Linked DNA regions of Homo sapiens: region 1 is linked to region 2. The links are contacts of gene promoters, found by promoter capture Hi-C in blood cells and fetal thymus (Javierre and others, 2016). All regions are on one chromosome and are shown on one strand. The core of a region is centred on a gene start or on the middle of the fragment in contact, and the rest is flanking DNA. Distances in the headings are between cores, read along the strand shown. Region 1 has its middle 6.0 kb from the start of SMG9. Region 2 holds the start of PHLDB3 (pleckstrin homology like domain family B member 3).

Region 1 (7,059 bases), core at 2,963-5,462, 260 kb after region 2:
GCCTGGTGATGAGTCAGCAGTACAGTCAGGCACCCAGTGAGCTGCCTTTTGTATTAGTGGCATGGTATGCTGTTCTGGAGATATATCATACTTTAACACTTTCTCTGTTGATGAGCATTTAGACTGTTGCTGAACTTCTGCTCTTACAAACATTTACTGCAGGGGTTTGTGTGTATGTTTCTGTTTTCTAATTTTTTCTTTTTCAGACATGTTCTTGCTGTCTCGCCCAGGCTGGAGTCATGTAATACAGTTGTGGCTCACTGCAGCCTCAACCTCCTGGGCTTAAGCAATCCTCCCACCTCAGCCTGAGGAGTAGCTGGGACCACAGGCATGTGCTACCACACCCAGCTAATTTTCTATTTTTTGTAGAGACGGGGTTTCACTATGTTGCCCAGGCTGTCTCAAACTCCTGGCTCAAGCAGTCCTCCTGCCTCAGCCTCCCAAAGTGCTGAGATTATGCTACAGTTAATATCCTGGTACACGTGGCTGCATGTATATGTTAGTATTGTCAGTAGACTATCTCATTTGAAGTGCAAGTAGAATTGCTGGGTCAAAGGGTATGCACATTGGGAATTTTGAGAGCCATTGCCAAATGATCTGTTCATGTCTTTATTTTTTGTTTTTGAGACAGGGTCTCCCTCTGTCACCCAGGCTGGAGTACAGTGGCATGATCATAGCTCACTGCAGCCTCAGCTTCCCAGGTTCAAGCAATTCTCCTGTCTCAGCCTCCCGAGTAGCTGAGACTACAGGCATGTGCCACCACACCCGGCTAATTTTTGTATTTCTTGTAGAGACAGAGTTTCACCATGTTGCCGAGGCTGGCCTCAATCAATCCTTCCACCTCAGCTTCCCAAAGTGCTGGGACTACAGGTGTGAGCCACTGCGCCTGGCCCTGTTCATCTCTTTTTCACTTTTTGTTCATTTCTTTCATTTATATGTTGAATGAATTATGGAACTCTAGTCATCTGCCAGGCACAGCTGTAGGCTGGAGATCCTGTAATGAATAGGAAAAGCACCTGCCCTTTGGGAGCAGATATTCTAGTGGGGCAGATGACATCAGATAAAGGATGCTTGGAAGAAAAGAAAATCGGGGGTGAGGATTGGGAAGACATTGCAAAGGATACAAAATTTCATTTAGACAGGAGGAATAAATTCAAGAGATCCAGTCCACAACATGGTAACTATAGTTAGTAACAATGTATACTTGAAAATTGCTAAGAGGATAAATTTTCAGTGTCCTCACCACAAAAATGATAAATATGTGAAATAATGCATATGTTAATTAGCTTGATTTAGCCATTGTACAATGTATAAATATACAAAACATGTTGTACACCATAAATATATACAATTTTTATTTTTCAATTAAAAATAAAGTCAGGTGCCGGGCGCAGTGGCTCACGCCTGTAATCCCAGCACTTTGGGAGGCCGAGGCGGGCAGATCATAAGGTCAGGAGATCGAGACCATCCTGGCTAACATGGTGAAACCCCGTCTCTACTAAAAATACAAAAAATTAGCCAAGCGTGGTGGCGGGCGCCTGTAGTCCCAGCTACTCCGGAGGCTGAGGCAGGAGAATGACATGAACCTGGGAGGCGGAGCTTGCAGTGAGCCAAGATCGCACCACTGCACTCCAGCCTGGGCAACAGAGCGAGACTCTGTCTCAAAAAAAAAAAAAAAAGTCAGGTTACAGGAATTGACAGTGATAGAGGTCACAGAGAGTGACAGGTGGCCAGGGAAGGCCGCTTTGAGGGGATGACATTTGATCAGAGGCCTGAATGCAGTTAAGGAAGGTCAGGAAATGAGCCATCTAAAGATGCTGAAGAACGGCCAGTAAAAGACCCCAAAGTGGGAGTGGGCCTGGCTGTCCAAGGATGGTCAAGGTGGCCAGAGTGGCTGAAACAGAGCAAGGGAGGGAAAGAAGGGCAGGATTATTTAGAGACGGAGCTGTAGACAGGGCCAGTTTACATAAAGTCTTACAGGCCATGGTAAGCATTTGGAATTTACTTCCAAATGTAACAAAGCCATTGCAGGGCTACAAACAAGCACCGGCTTGTTCCAATTAATGTTTACAAAGACTTCTCCAGTGAACAACAAAAATTAACAGTGATTGCCTATAGGGATGAGGGTTATAGACAGATGTGGGTCAGGGCTATGGGAACTTAAAAAGCGTTGTTGTTTTTTTAAACCACGTAATTATTAGCTATGCGCAAAAATGTTCAGTGAAAACAGTGCTGGTTGCTGTGAGGAGAATGGCCTGCAGGGGCGGAAGCAGGAGATGAGAAAGCTGGTGTCCTTGCCTGGGCAAGAAAGGATAGTGGTTCTGGAAGAGGGTGGTGCTAATAGATGAGTTGAGAAGGGTCAGGAACTGGGATCTTTTTTGAAGGTAGCGCCAAGAAATTAAACATGGGGTGTGAGAGGAAGCATGAATCAGGGGTGACTTGAAAGTCATCCTAGAGATCTGTTGTACAACAGGGTGACTCTCATTCATAACAATGTGTTATATGCTTGAAACTTACTAAAATAATAGATTTTAAGTTTTCTCACACCACAAAAAAATAAGTATGTGAAATAATGCATATGTTAATTAGCTTGATTTAGCCATTCCACAATGTGTACATATATTAAAACATCATGTTATTTGCAGCATTAAAAAAAGTTCTAGCGGGGAGGGGGGAGGGATAGCATTAGGAGATATACCTAATGCTAAATGACGAGTTAATGGGTGCAGCACACCAGCATGGCACATGTATACATATGTAACAAACCTGCACATTGTGCACATGTACCCTAAAACTTAAAGTATAATAATAATTAAAAAAAAAAAGTTCGAGAGGTTTTGGTCCTGGCCAACTGCCTGAAGACTGAGACTTTTTTTTTTTTTTTTTTTTTTTTTTTTTTGAGATGGAGTCTTGCTCTGTCGCCCAGGCTGGAGTACAGTGGCGTGATCTCGGCTCACTGCAAGCTCCGCTTCCTGGGTTCATGCCATTCTCCTGCCTCAGCCTCCCGAGTAGCTGGGACTACAGGTGCCCACCACCACGCCCGGCTAATTTTTTTGTATTTTTAGTAGAGTCGGGGTTTCACCATGTTAGCCAGGATGGTCTCGATCTCCTGACCTCGTGATCCACCCGCCTCAGCCTCCCAAAGTGCTGAGATTACAGGCGTGAGCCACCACGCCCGGCCTAAGACTGAGGCTTTTTACCGGGATGAGGAAAAGTACTTTTGATGGGAAATCAACAAGCTTTGAAATTCTTAACTTTGAGATGCACGTTGGTCATCAAATAAGTGGTTGGAGTTAGGGGAAAAAGCCGGGGTTTGTAGATAAAGACTTTCTGACTTTGCGTCACAGAATTTAGTTTAATTAATTAATTTATTTTGAGACAAAGTCTTGCACTGTCACCCAGGCTGGAATGCAATGGCACGATCTTGGCTCCCTGCAACCTCCACCTCCCGAGCTCAAGCAATCCTCCTGCCTCAGCCTCCCAAGTAGCTGGGACCACATATGCTCTAGCACACCCGGCTAATTTTTTAGAGATGAGGGTTCACTATGCTGCCTAGGCTGGTCTCGAACCCCTGGGTTCAAGCAATCCACCCCATCAGCCTCCCAAAGGCTGGGATTACAGTCACTACAGAGTTTTAAAAATACACACAAAGATGTTATGGTATGAAGAGACTCCCACGTACCCATCGCCCAATATTGACAGACATCTGCATTTTTCTTGTCTTATGTCTTCTATTTTTCCCTCCCACATATAAGCATACTTCCCGCCACCCCCTGGAGTTTTGTTTGTTTTAAGAAAATCACAGATAACCTGTCATTTTGTTAATAACTATACAAGTATGCTAAATTTTGGAGCTGCCTATTTATAGATGATATTTAAAGCTATGATTTGCTGAGATCATCTAGGCTGAGAGGTTGAAGAGAGCAGGGACTAGGCCTGAGCATCCCGCATGTAGAAGCCAGGATCCTGGAGAGGGGCTGAGATGGAGCCAGGAGTGTCAGGAGAGGGGATGACCTGGCGCCATGGGATCAAAGGGTTCCAAAGAGAAGATAATGGACTAAGGAGCAGAGACACGGGGCAGCAGCTGGAGGCAGATGTGGGGTCCACCATGGAAAAGACATGACTTTTGATCCCCCATCTAACTGTGTTATGGAACCTTCTCAGTATCTATCAGGAAAAATGTATAAGTACTTATTTTTCTTTATTTTTATTTATTTTCTTTTTGGGTGACATATAACTTAAGTGTGGTAAAGTATATAAAGGGCACAGATCTTAAGTGTACCAGGTAATGAATTTTCACAAATTTATGCATCCATGTAACCGCTAATCAGAGAACATTTCCAGCACCCAGACGTCTTCCTTGTGCTCTTTCCCTGTCAATTCCCCTGCTCCAGAAGCAACCACCCATCTAATGCCTTTCAAAAACAGGCACAGAGATTCGTTGTGTCTGTTTTTGAACTTCATGCGAATGAAATCTTACAGCATGTCTTCCGTGTGTCTGGCATCTTTAGCTCTTTATGTCTGGCAAAGTCTTTTATGTCATTCTATGTAGCAGGAGTTTAGAACCAACTTTATGGCCGGGCTTGGTGGCTCACATCTGTAATCCCAGCACTTTGGGAGGCGGAGGCAGAGGCAGGCAGAACACGTGAGGCTAGGAGTTCGAGACCAGCCTGGCCAACATAATGAAACCCCATCTCTACTAAAAATACAAAAAATTAGCTGGGCGTGGTGGAGGTGCATACCTGTAATCCCAGCTACACTCGGGAGGCCGAGGCACGAGAATTGCTTGAAGCTGAGAGGCAGAGGTTGCAGTGAGCCGAGATCACGCCACTGCACTCCAGCCTAGGTGACAGAGCGACAGATATTTTGCAGTTTGGTGAATAGTGAACTTTAAGGAAAATGGAGAATCTAAAATGCTTCTGAAAGTTCCAGTGGGATGTTTATAAGATGGGAGAAATTATAGCATGTTTGTGTGCAGATGGGAATGATAGAGGGAAAAGAGACCAGGAGACTTTGGAGCTGTTTTTTGAGGAGGTGTGGACAGGGTGAGGGGGCTAGACTTGACTTGAAGAAGGGCCAGCTCATCCTGGAAAAAGAAAGGAAAGTTTTATCATTTGACACCCCCTCCAAATTATAAAAAGCACTCTCCTGGTTTGTATATGTTAGCAGCTATTCCACACAACATAAAAGCTTAAAGCATGCCTTTGGACTGCCAGTCTGGTGTTGATGATGATGATACAGCTTCCTTTATGGACCATAATAAATAGCTGGGCTGGGCATGGTGGCTCCTGCCTGTAATCCCAGCACTTTGGGAGGCCAAGGTGGGAGGATCTCTTGAGCCCAGGAGTTTGAGACCAGCCTGGGCAACATAGTGAGACCCCCGTCTCTACAACAAAGAACTGAATAAATGTTAGTGATGTTTATTTTTATTCTGAGTGGATGGGGCAAGAAGGAGGGGAGAGCAGCAGGCAGTTTGGGAAGGAAGAGGAGCCTAGTGGCCTGAGCAGCCAGGACAGGGAGGAGAAGGGGAGGCCAGAAGACGGGGAGAGACTGAGCTTGCAGAGTCCCCCGGGTGAGGCTTGTGGGCATACTGACACAATGGAATACTACTGTGTAATGAAAAGGATGAGCAGCATGGCTGAATCTCACCACCACCCTGCAGAGCCCAAGACACAGATACACACCAGGGCGTGCAGCAGGGTTCCTTCCAAAGTTCAAAGTTGAACAAAAGGAATCAAGACAGGTCAGGATGGTGGTTCCTGGGATGAAGGGGGCTGTTGGCTGGGAGGGAAATGAGAGCTTTAGGGGGCTAGACACTTCTAGCTTGATCTGAGTGATGGCTACTCAGGTGAATGTATTTGAAGAAATATATTGAGATTACATTTAAAATTTGTGTACTTTATTGTATGTTAAAATATATGTCAGTTAAAGAAAAAAAGGGGGCAGGCATGGTGGCACACAGCTGTAGTCCCAGCTGCTTGGGAGGCTGAGGCAGGAGGATCACTTGAGTGCAGGAATTCGAGGCTGCAGTGAGCTACGATTGTACCACTGTACTCCAGCCTGGGTGACAGAGCAAGACTCTGTCTCTAAAAAAAAAAGAGCTGGACTCAGAGCTAGACTTTGACAGGAGGGCAGTGGGAGGAATGGGAAGTGTGTGGGTGTTAGAAAGGTCCTCAAGGGCAGTTGGGGGATTTATGAAGGGGAAAGGCCCGTGACTGGCTGTATGACCCTGGGAAGCCCCTGCCCTCTCTGGACCGCCTTTCCCCCACCCAGTCCTCATGAGAGTGCAGGCAGAACAGAAATAGGAGAAGGAAGGAGCCAAAATCACCATGAGACTCAGCTCCTGGAGGACAGAGCCCTCTGATTCATGTCTGCAGCCCAGCTCCTGGCTCAGGGCCTTCAGGAAGTGTTGATTTGGTGAGGGGGGTGCAAAACCTGCCAGAAGTGGGGGCATCCAGGCTTGAGCCCCACAGTGGAGAATGAGGGCAGGCGGGCCAGGGCAGATCCAAGATAATTCAGAACACAGGATCTCTTGTATGTTCTCCTAGGTTCTTAGTCAAAAGCCCCTTTTCACTGGTTCTGACCTTGCCTCAGCTGAAATCAACATGGGATGGCTCAGCTGAAACCAACATGGGGTGGCTTCAGGCCATCCCAGGCATTCAGAGGGTTCGTTTAATGACATTCACTGAGGCCCTGTCTATGTCAGGCCCTTGGTGTTGAAGACGCAATCATGAACAAAAATGAAAATACAATGTGATGGTCTCCTGAGTGTCTGAATGCGCCAGGTGGCTAAGTGCTGGGGCTCTGGGGTCAGGCTGCCTGGGTCACATCCTGGCTCCAAACTGCTTTGCTATGGCTTCGGGCAGTTACCTCATCTGTAAAATGGGACCAACATTGCCTACCTTGCCTCCTTTTGTGAGGTCACTTATTAAAAGGGCTTAGCGTGGTGCTTGACCCATTATTATTATTATTATTATTATTATTATTATTATTATTATTATTATTATTACTACTACTACTACTACTTGAGACAGGGTCTCACTTTGTCACCCAGGCTGG
Region 2 (6,943 bases), core at 3,121-5,620:
AACAGAGGCATGTTCAAGGGCACCACAGGCATGCGATCAGCCATGCTCTGCCTATAGGACAGAAGACTGGATTTTTCCAATAAACAGTATGGGGAAGACACAGCGGGTAGGAACCACCAGAGATAAAACAATGGGCAAGACGTATCAGCCAATCACACTGAACTTTGGGGACTTCATTCAAACAAGCCACCTGTTAACTGGCATTTTGAGACTGTCTGGGAAACACAAAAACTAACCAGAAATAAGACAATACTAAGAACTTATTAATTTTTTATTTTTGAGACAGGGTCTTGCTCTATCGCCCAGGTTGGAGTGCAATGTTATAATCACAGCTCACTGCAGCCTCTACCTTCTGGGCTCAATTGATCCTCCCACCTCACTCTTCTGAGTCTGAGGCCACAGGCACATGCCACCATGCCTGGTTAATTTTTGTATTTTTATTTTTCACAGAAACGGTGTCTTATTATAATATTGCCAGGCTGGTCTCATAGTCTTGGCCTCAAGCGATCCTCCCACTTTGCCCCGCCCCCCGTACCCCCCCCCCACCCCGCAAGTACTGGGATTACAGGTGTGAGCCACTTGGCCCAGCCTAAAAGGATTTCTTATCTGTCAATGATACACTCTAAACATATGTACAGACCATATGATGTCTGGGATTGGCTTTTAAAACTGGGGACGAGAACAAATTGGAGATAATGAAACAAGAATGTAAGAATATTAATCATTGATGAAGCTGGTGGGCACAGGACATGGGAGCTGCCTGACTATTGTGGGGTGGGTTTGGAAGTTTTCTTTTTCTCTTTTTTTTTTTTTTTTTTTTTTGAGACGGAGTCTCCTTCTTGTCACGCAGGCTGCTGGAGTGCAATGGTGCGATCTTGGCTCACTGCAACCTCCATCTCCCGGATTCAAGCGATTCTCCTGCCTCAGCCTCCCAAGTAGCTGGGACTACAGGCGCCCGCCACCACGCCCTGCTAATTTTTGTATTTTTAAGCAGAGACGGGGTTTCGCCATGTTGCCCAGGCTGGTCTCAAACTCCTGAGCTCAGGCAATCCGCCCGCCTCGGCCTCCCAAAGTGCTATGATTACAGGCGTGAGCCACTGCTTCCGGCCAGTTTGGAAGTTTTTACACACCCACATTTAAATAGCAAACGGACAGGGGACAAAGGAAGAGCCCCAAAAATCTCGCCCAGGGAGGGAGAAGGAAAACCAGGAGGGGCATCTGCCCCTCACTCTCTCAGGAGCCCAAATGTCTTCCTTTGGGGAATGGGGACAACCCCGGGGCGCAGGTGGCTAGGAGCACACCAACATCCATGGACCAGGAAGGACACTGCTGATGAAGACCCGGTGAGCCAAACAGACCTGTTCCCGCTGCTGGCGGCCGCGCTGCTCCGAGGCCGCCTGCTGCTCCAGCAGCTCCCGCAGCTGCTCCTCCTCCCGGCGAGCGGCCACTCGCTCCCCAGCCAGCTCACCCCGCAGCAAGGCCACCTCCACCTCCATCTGCGGAGAGAATGCCAGGGCTGGGGGCTCGGACGCCTAGGTCCAAGGAAGAGGCCCAGGGCCTGAACTACCGGATTCGAAGGGAGGATGGACTCCAGGGACCTGAATTTGGAGGGAGGAAGAGCGGAGGGCCTAAAATCTGATCCCACCCGAGGAAAAAGCTGGGAGTCCGGCTTTGCGGGTTCCGCTTGAGTTGGGGCCAGGCTTCCCAAGGGGTCCGCAGCCTCACCTCGATCCTCAGCTCCTTCCTCTGGCGCTGTAGCTCCTTCACTCGCTGCTCCATCAGGGCCACACGAGTCAATGCCTCCAGCTGCTGTCCTTGCAGGCGCCGCGCCGCCCCTCGCACCCCTTCCCGCGAAGAGGTGGATGCGGGAGGTGTGGCCGCCATAGCTATCGGAGGCGTAGCCTCGGGCTGAAGTTGAGGGGGGCGTGGTTAAGTGGAGATGCCTCGCCCCCTGCAATCACTAAGTAGGTCTGGTCCCCACCCAACATCACCCTCTGCGGGTCTCAGTCCATCAGTCCACTTACCTAACACAACCACCACTCCCATAATCTGTCGCAGGCTCTTTTCTTTTTCTTTCTTATCTTTTTTTTTTTTTTGTCCTGAGATAGGGTCTCACTGGCTGGAGTGCAGTGGCGCGATTACGGCTCACTGCAGCATCGACCTCCCTCGCTCAAGCGATTCTTCTGCCTCATCCTCCTAGGTAGCTGTGACTACAGGCGCGCACCGCCACGCCAAGCTCTTTTTTTTTTTTTTTTTTTTTGGCAGAGAGGGGGCGATGCTATGTTGCCCAGGCTGGTCTCAAACTCCTAGGCTCAAGGGATTCTCCCACCTCGGCCTCCCAAAGTGCTACGATTACAGGCATAAGCCACCGCGCCCGGCCTCAGACCCCTGTATTTAAGGTCGGAGTGGGGGAGGGTGCAAGTCCCGTGACCACCCAACCACACGGACCACAGAGGCTTGCAGTACCGTATGGAGGGTGAGCAGGTGTAAAGCCGACTTATGAAAGGTGTTTCTTTTTCTCTATCAGGTCCTATTCTCTTGGCGTCACTTTCTTGTAGTGCCTGGATCTGTCTCTGTCTCTCCACCTGACCCCAGTCTCTCAGATTCGGTATCTGTCCACTAGATCTGTCCACTAGAATCACTAGATCTTTCTTCCTCGGAGTATGTCCCTCTCTCGAGGTTTTTGTCTATTTGTTTCTCTGAGCATCTCTGCCATTTATTTCTGGGTTTCCCTCTGTCTCGATTCCCCTCTCTCTGACTCTAGTCTCACTGTGTCTCTGTCTTTTTGGGGTCTTTGTCTCTCAGTCTCCATGTCTCTGGGTCTCTGTCTGGCTTCTTGATCTCTCTGCATCTCTTACTCGTTTGGTTCTCTCTGTTCTGTAGTCTCTCCTGTCTGTCTATCTGGTCTCTCTCTCTCTCTCTCTCTCTCTCTCTCTCTCTCATTTTTAGAGATAGGTTCTGCTTTGTCCCAGGCTGGGGTGCAGTGGCGCAGTCATAGTTCACCGCAGCCTACAACTCCTGGGCTCAAGCGATCCTCCTGCCTCAGCCTCCCGAGTAGCTGGGATTACAGGCACGCGGCACTGCGCTTGGACAATTTTTGTATTTTTTTTTTCTCTAGAGACAGGGATTTGCTATGTTGCCCAGACTTGTCTCGAACTCCTGGGCTTAAGCAATCCTCCCCTCGGCCTCCCCAAGTGCTGGGATTACAGGCGTGAGCCACCTATCTGGTTCCTCTATACTAGTCTCTCTGTCTCTGTCGCCCGTTTGGGTCTATCTCCGTTCTTGGGGCCTCCCCGTGGCTCTATCTGGTTTCTGTCTCTGTATCTGGTTTCTGTCTGTCTGTGCCTCTGCCTCTCTGGCTCCGTGTCCTGGTGTATCTCTCTCTCAGTAGTCTCTGCTATCACTCGGTCTCTCTCCCTGTCTCCGGGTCTCTGTCTTTCTGGTTTCCCTCTACCTGTCTACCTGTCTGGCCACCTGTTTGGGTCCCCGTCGGTCCAAGCCCCCCGCGCTGTCGCCCTCGGGCCCCTCACCGCGTCGCGGCTGCTCTCAGTGCTGCTGCCTTCTCCCACTTCTTCTTCCTCTGCCTGCTGCTCAGCTCCCCCGCGGCTCGAAGGTTCCGCCAGGACTTCGGATGCCTCCTGTTCCCGGGACTCCTCGGGATGGCCCTGGGGCTGGACCTCCACGTCGCATTCCGGGACCAGCGGCGGCGGGGTCCCCTCCTCGGGGCTGCTTCGCGTCCCCATGGCCGCTGGGACTCCTGCGGGGTGGGCGGGACCAGAAGCTCCGGGGGCGGGGCCTAGGACGGCTGAGCGCCGCTCGCGTCTGCTCCGGGGCGCGGAGACCCCCCCCCAAGGAGGCGGGGCCTAAGAGTTCAAAGGATGGAACTGAGCGTTACGGAGGCGTGTCCTGAAGTTTCCAGAGGCGGGGCTTGATGGCTCCAAGGCGACACGCCACCGGAGACGGGACCGGAATTTGAGTCCGGGTCGTAGCACGCCCCCTACTGACCTCTTCGACCCCGCCTCCCCTCCCTCATCTCTAGGTGTCAGGCCTTGTACCCTCCCAGCAGCCCCCTACAATCTCTTGGATTCGCTTAGAGCGACCCATCTTCTCCCTCCGAGACTCAGCAGTTCGGCTCCCGCCCCATCCTTCCCGGAGCCCCGTAGTCTTAGTCCCGACCCCACTGTGCAGGGCAACCGTGCCCACGCCGCCTCACCCAGGGATCCAGGAGTCGGGGCTCTCCTTCTCTGAACAAGCCAGGAGTCGGAGTCCTTGAGATTCCGAAGTCCAACTGCCACCTCCCCACAGCCTCGGCCCCCTCACGAGCTCAGGCTTCGGCGCGCTCCGCTCTGCGCGCTGGGCACGGCCGCTTCTGCCTATGAGACAGGTGGCAGGGGAAGAGGGAGGAGAGAGGCCGCCCGGTCCCCCTCCCCAGCAGCCCGGAAGTGGAGGGGGGACAACAGGTCCAACAGCTCCCGAGGGAGGAGGGAGCCACGGGCTTGCCCCACCCGTGGCCTCGGCATCCGGCCATCCCGGCCCCACCGGCCCCGGCCCGGCCCCACCCTCGTGGAACTCAGCATCGCGACCTCCCAGTCTCCCTCGAGCCCCTCATTCCTGCCCCCCTGGAGGAGTCTTGGCCACCTCTGTATGGGAGCCTCTCTAATGTCCAGACCTTGGGAGTTCAGAAAGGAAGGCAGGAATGGAGATGGGGACGTCTCCCCTCTAATGAGCCCTTCAGAAGGGCCCTGACCGGTTTGGGGAGCTGGACAAGGGGAAGGGGTGCCCTGAACTGAGTCAGACACCTGCCCAGAGACTGAGGGAAGTGTACCGCCACCCCCCCACAACTTTGCTATGGGGTGGAGGGCAGAGGTTAAAGGTCTCAGCCAGACCCTTTCCTCTCTGGGCGAAAACAGGAAAATGAAAACAGGAAAATAACTGGTATATGAAAAGGGATGATTAGAAGTCAAGAGCTGTGTGAAACACTTTATACCCAGTCATTTAATTTCACCCTCAAAGCTGTCCAGCGAGAAAGTGATTACTACCTCCATTTCTTTTTTTTTAGTAGAGACTGGGTTTCTCCAGGTTGCCCAGGCTGATCTTGAACTCCTGGGCTCAAACAACCTGCCTGCCTCAGCCTCCCAAAGTGTTGAGATTACAGGCGTGAGCCACCGCTCCTGGCCTACTATCTCCATTTTACACTTGGGGATACAAGCTGAGGAGGACAAATGCACCCAAGGTTGGCTGGGCACAGAGGCTCAGGCCTGTAATCCCAGCACTTTGGGAAGCCGAGGCAGGTGGATTGCTTGAGATCAGGAGTTCAAGGCCAGCCTGGGCAACATGGAGAAACCCCATCTCTACTAAAAATACAAAAATTATGCCAGGCGTGGTGGCACACACCTGTCATCTCAGCTACTCCAGAGGCTGAGGCAGGAGGATATCTCGAGCCCAGGAGGTCGAGGCTGCAGTGAGTCTTGAATGTGCCACTGCACTCCAGCCTGGGCGACAGAGTAAGACCCCATCTCAGAAAAAAAAAAAAAAATGTAGCCAACATCTACACATGTTGTAAGTGGTAAAATGCAGGCTTCATTCTCTCAAAAGTCCATGTTCTTAACCATTGCGTATACTGTCACTACAAGCCAGGAAGTACCCAAAAGATCATTCTAAATGATAGTAACTTTAATGGTGAACACTGATAGGCCATGTGCCAGGCACTCACACACATTGACTCATCAGAGCATCACAACACCCCATTATTATTCCTTCCATTTTAGAGATAAGAAAACTGAGGCCTAGAGAAGTGAAGTAACTTACCCCAGGGCTAAGTGGGAAGTGGCTCAAAAGCAAGCCGGTGTTCTAATCCAAGGTGATGAGAAGACCTGCCCCAGATAGCTGTGTTTGTTTTTGATCTTGTGAGTTAGAAATCTTGTGGGCTCCCGGGCTGGGCGCGGTGGCTCACACCTGTAATCCCAGCACTTTGGGAGGCCGAGGCTGGTGGATCACGAGGTCAGGAGATCAAGATCATATTGGCTAACATGGTCAAACCCTGTCTCTACTAAAAATATGAAAAAATTAGCCGGGCATGGTGGCACGCGCCTGTAGTCCCAGCTACTTGGGAAGCTGATGCAGGAGAATCGCTTGAACCCGGGAGGCAGAGGTTGCAGTGAGCCGAGATCGTGCCACTGCACTCCAGCCTGGGCAATGGAGGGAGACTCCATCTCAAAAAAAAAAAGAAAAGAAAAAGAAAACAAATCTTGCAGGCTCCCTGGCCTCTCCATAGGACCAGAACCCCACCCCTTTCGGCCCAGAAACCCAATTGGTTCCCCCAGAAAATAGGTAGAAGTCAGACTCACGTTAAAAAAAGTTTTATTTAGGGAGCTCCAGGGAATGCGGTGGGAAAGGAGAGGTGCAGTGTCATTGCCGCCCTCTCCTCCCACCTAGTGCATTAATAGTGGATGGGAGCATCTGACAGAAGTGAGATCAGGCAGTGGGTGTCTGCACCCCACAGCGCATGTTGGCTGGAACAGCAAAGTCTGAAAGGAAGAAATCAAGGTTAAAACTAAGGGGCCTAGGTAGAGTTCCAGGCCCCACTGGAGACCCAGAAATCCTAGGAACCTTTCCTCTTCAGGAAACTAGAGTTTTGGTCCTGAGCCCACTCCTTCCCTCAGACCCAGGAGTCCAGTACCCCAGCCCCTCCTCCCTCAGACCCAGGAGTCCAGACCCCCAGCCCCTCTTCCCTCAGACCCAGGAGCCCAGACCCCCAGCCCCTCCTCCCTCAGACCCAGGAGTCCAGTCCCCCAGCCCTTCCTTCCTCAGACCCAGGAGTCCAGTCCCCCAGCCCCTCCTCCCTCAGACCCAGGAGTCCAGTCCCCCAGCCCCTCCTCCCTCAGACTCAGGAGTTCAGACCCCCAGCCCCTCCTCCCTCAGACCCAGGAGTCCAGGCCCCCAG

Evidence for each region. Contacts are between HindIII fragments. The CHiCAGO score rates a contact against its expected background, and 5 or more counts as called.
Region 1: a fragment that was not itself captured here is called in contact with the fragment with the promoter of PHLDB3 in region 2 in 1 of 17 cell types (naive B cells); the score reaches 5.2 in naive B cells.

What each region holds. Positions count from the first base shown.
Region 1 is chr19:43,757,394-43,764,452 of GRCh38, forward strand. No RefSeq gene overlaps it. Among named protein-coding and RNA genes, the nearest start is that of SMG9, 6.0 kb to the left of the region's middle. The HindIII fragment of the contact is 1,951 bases long and covers 3,238-5,188 here.
Region 2 is chr19:43,500,376-43,507,318 of GRCh38, forward strand. PHLDB3 (pleckstrin homology like domain family B member 3) reads right to left here and starts at 4,371. Exons shown (of 16, transcript NM_198850.4): 1 at 4,214-4,371; 2 at 3,531-3,757; 3 at 1,726-1,908; 4 at 1,359-1,496. The coding sequence starts at 3,743. It overlaps ETHE1 (ETHE1 persulfide dioxygenase), which reads right to left. Exons shown (of 7, transcript NM_014297.5): 7 at 6,344-6,527. The coding sequence ends at 6,475. RefSeq lists an enhancer at 3,507-4,029 and silencers at 3,658-3,907, 4,508-4,567. The HindIII fragment of the contact is 22,316 bases long and covers 1-6,943 here.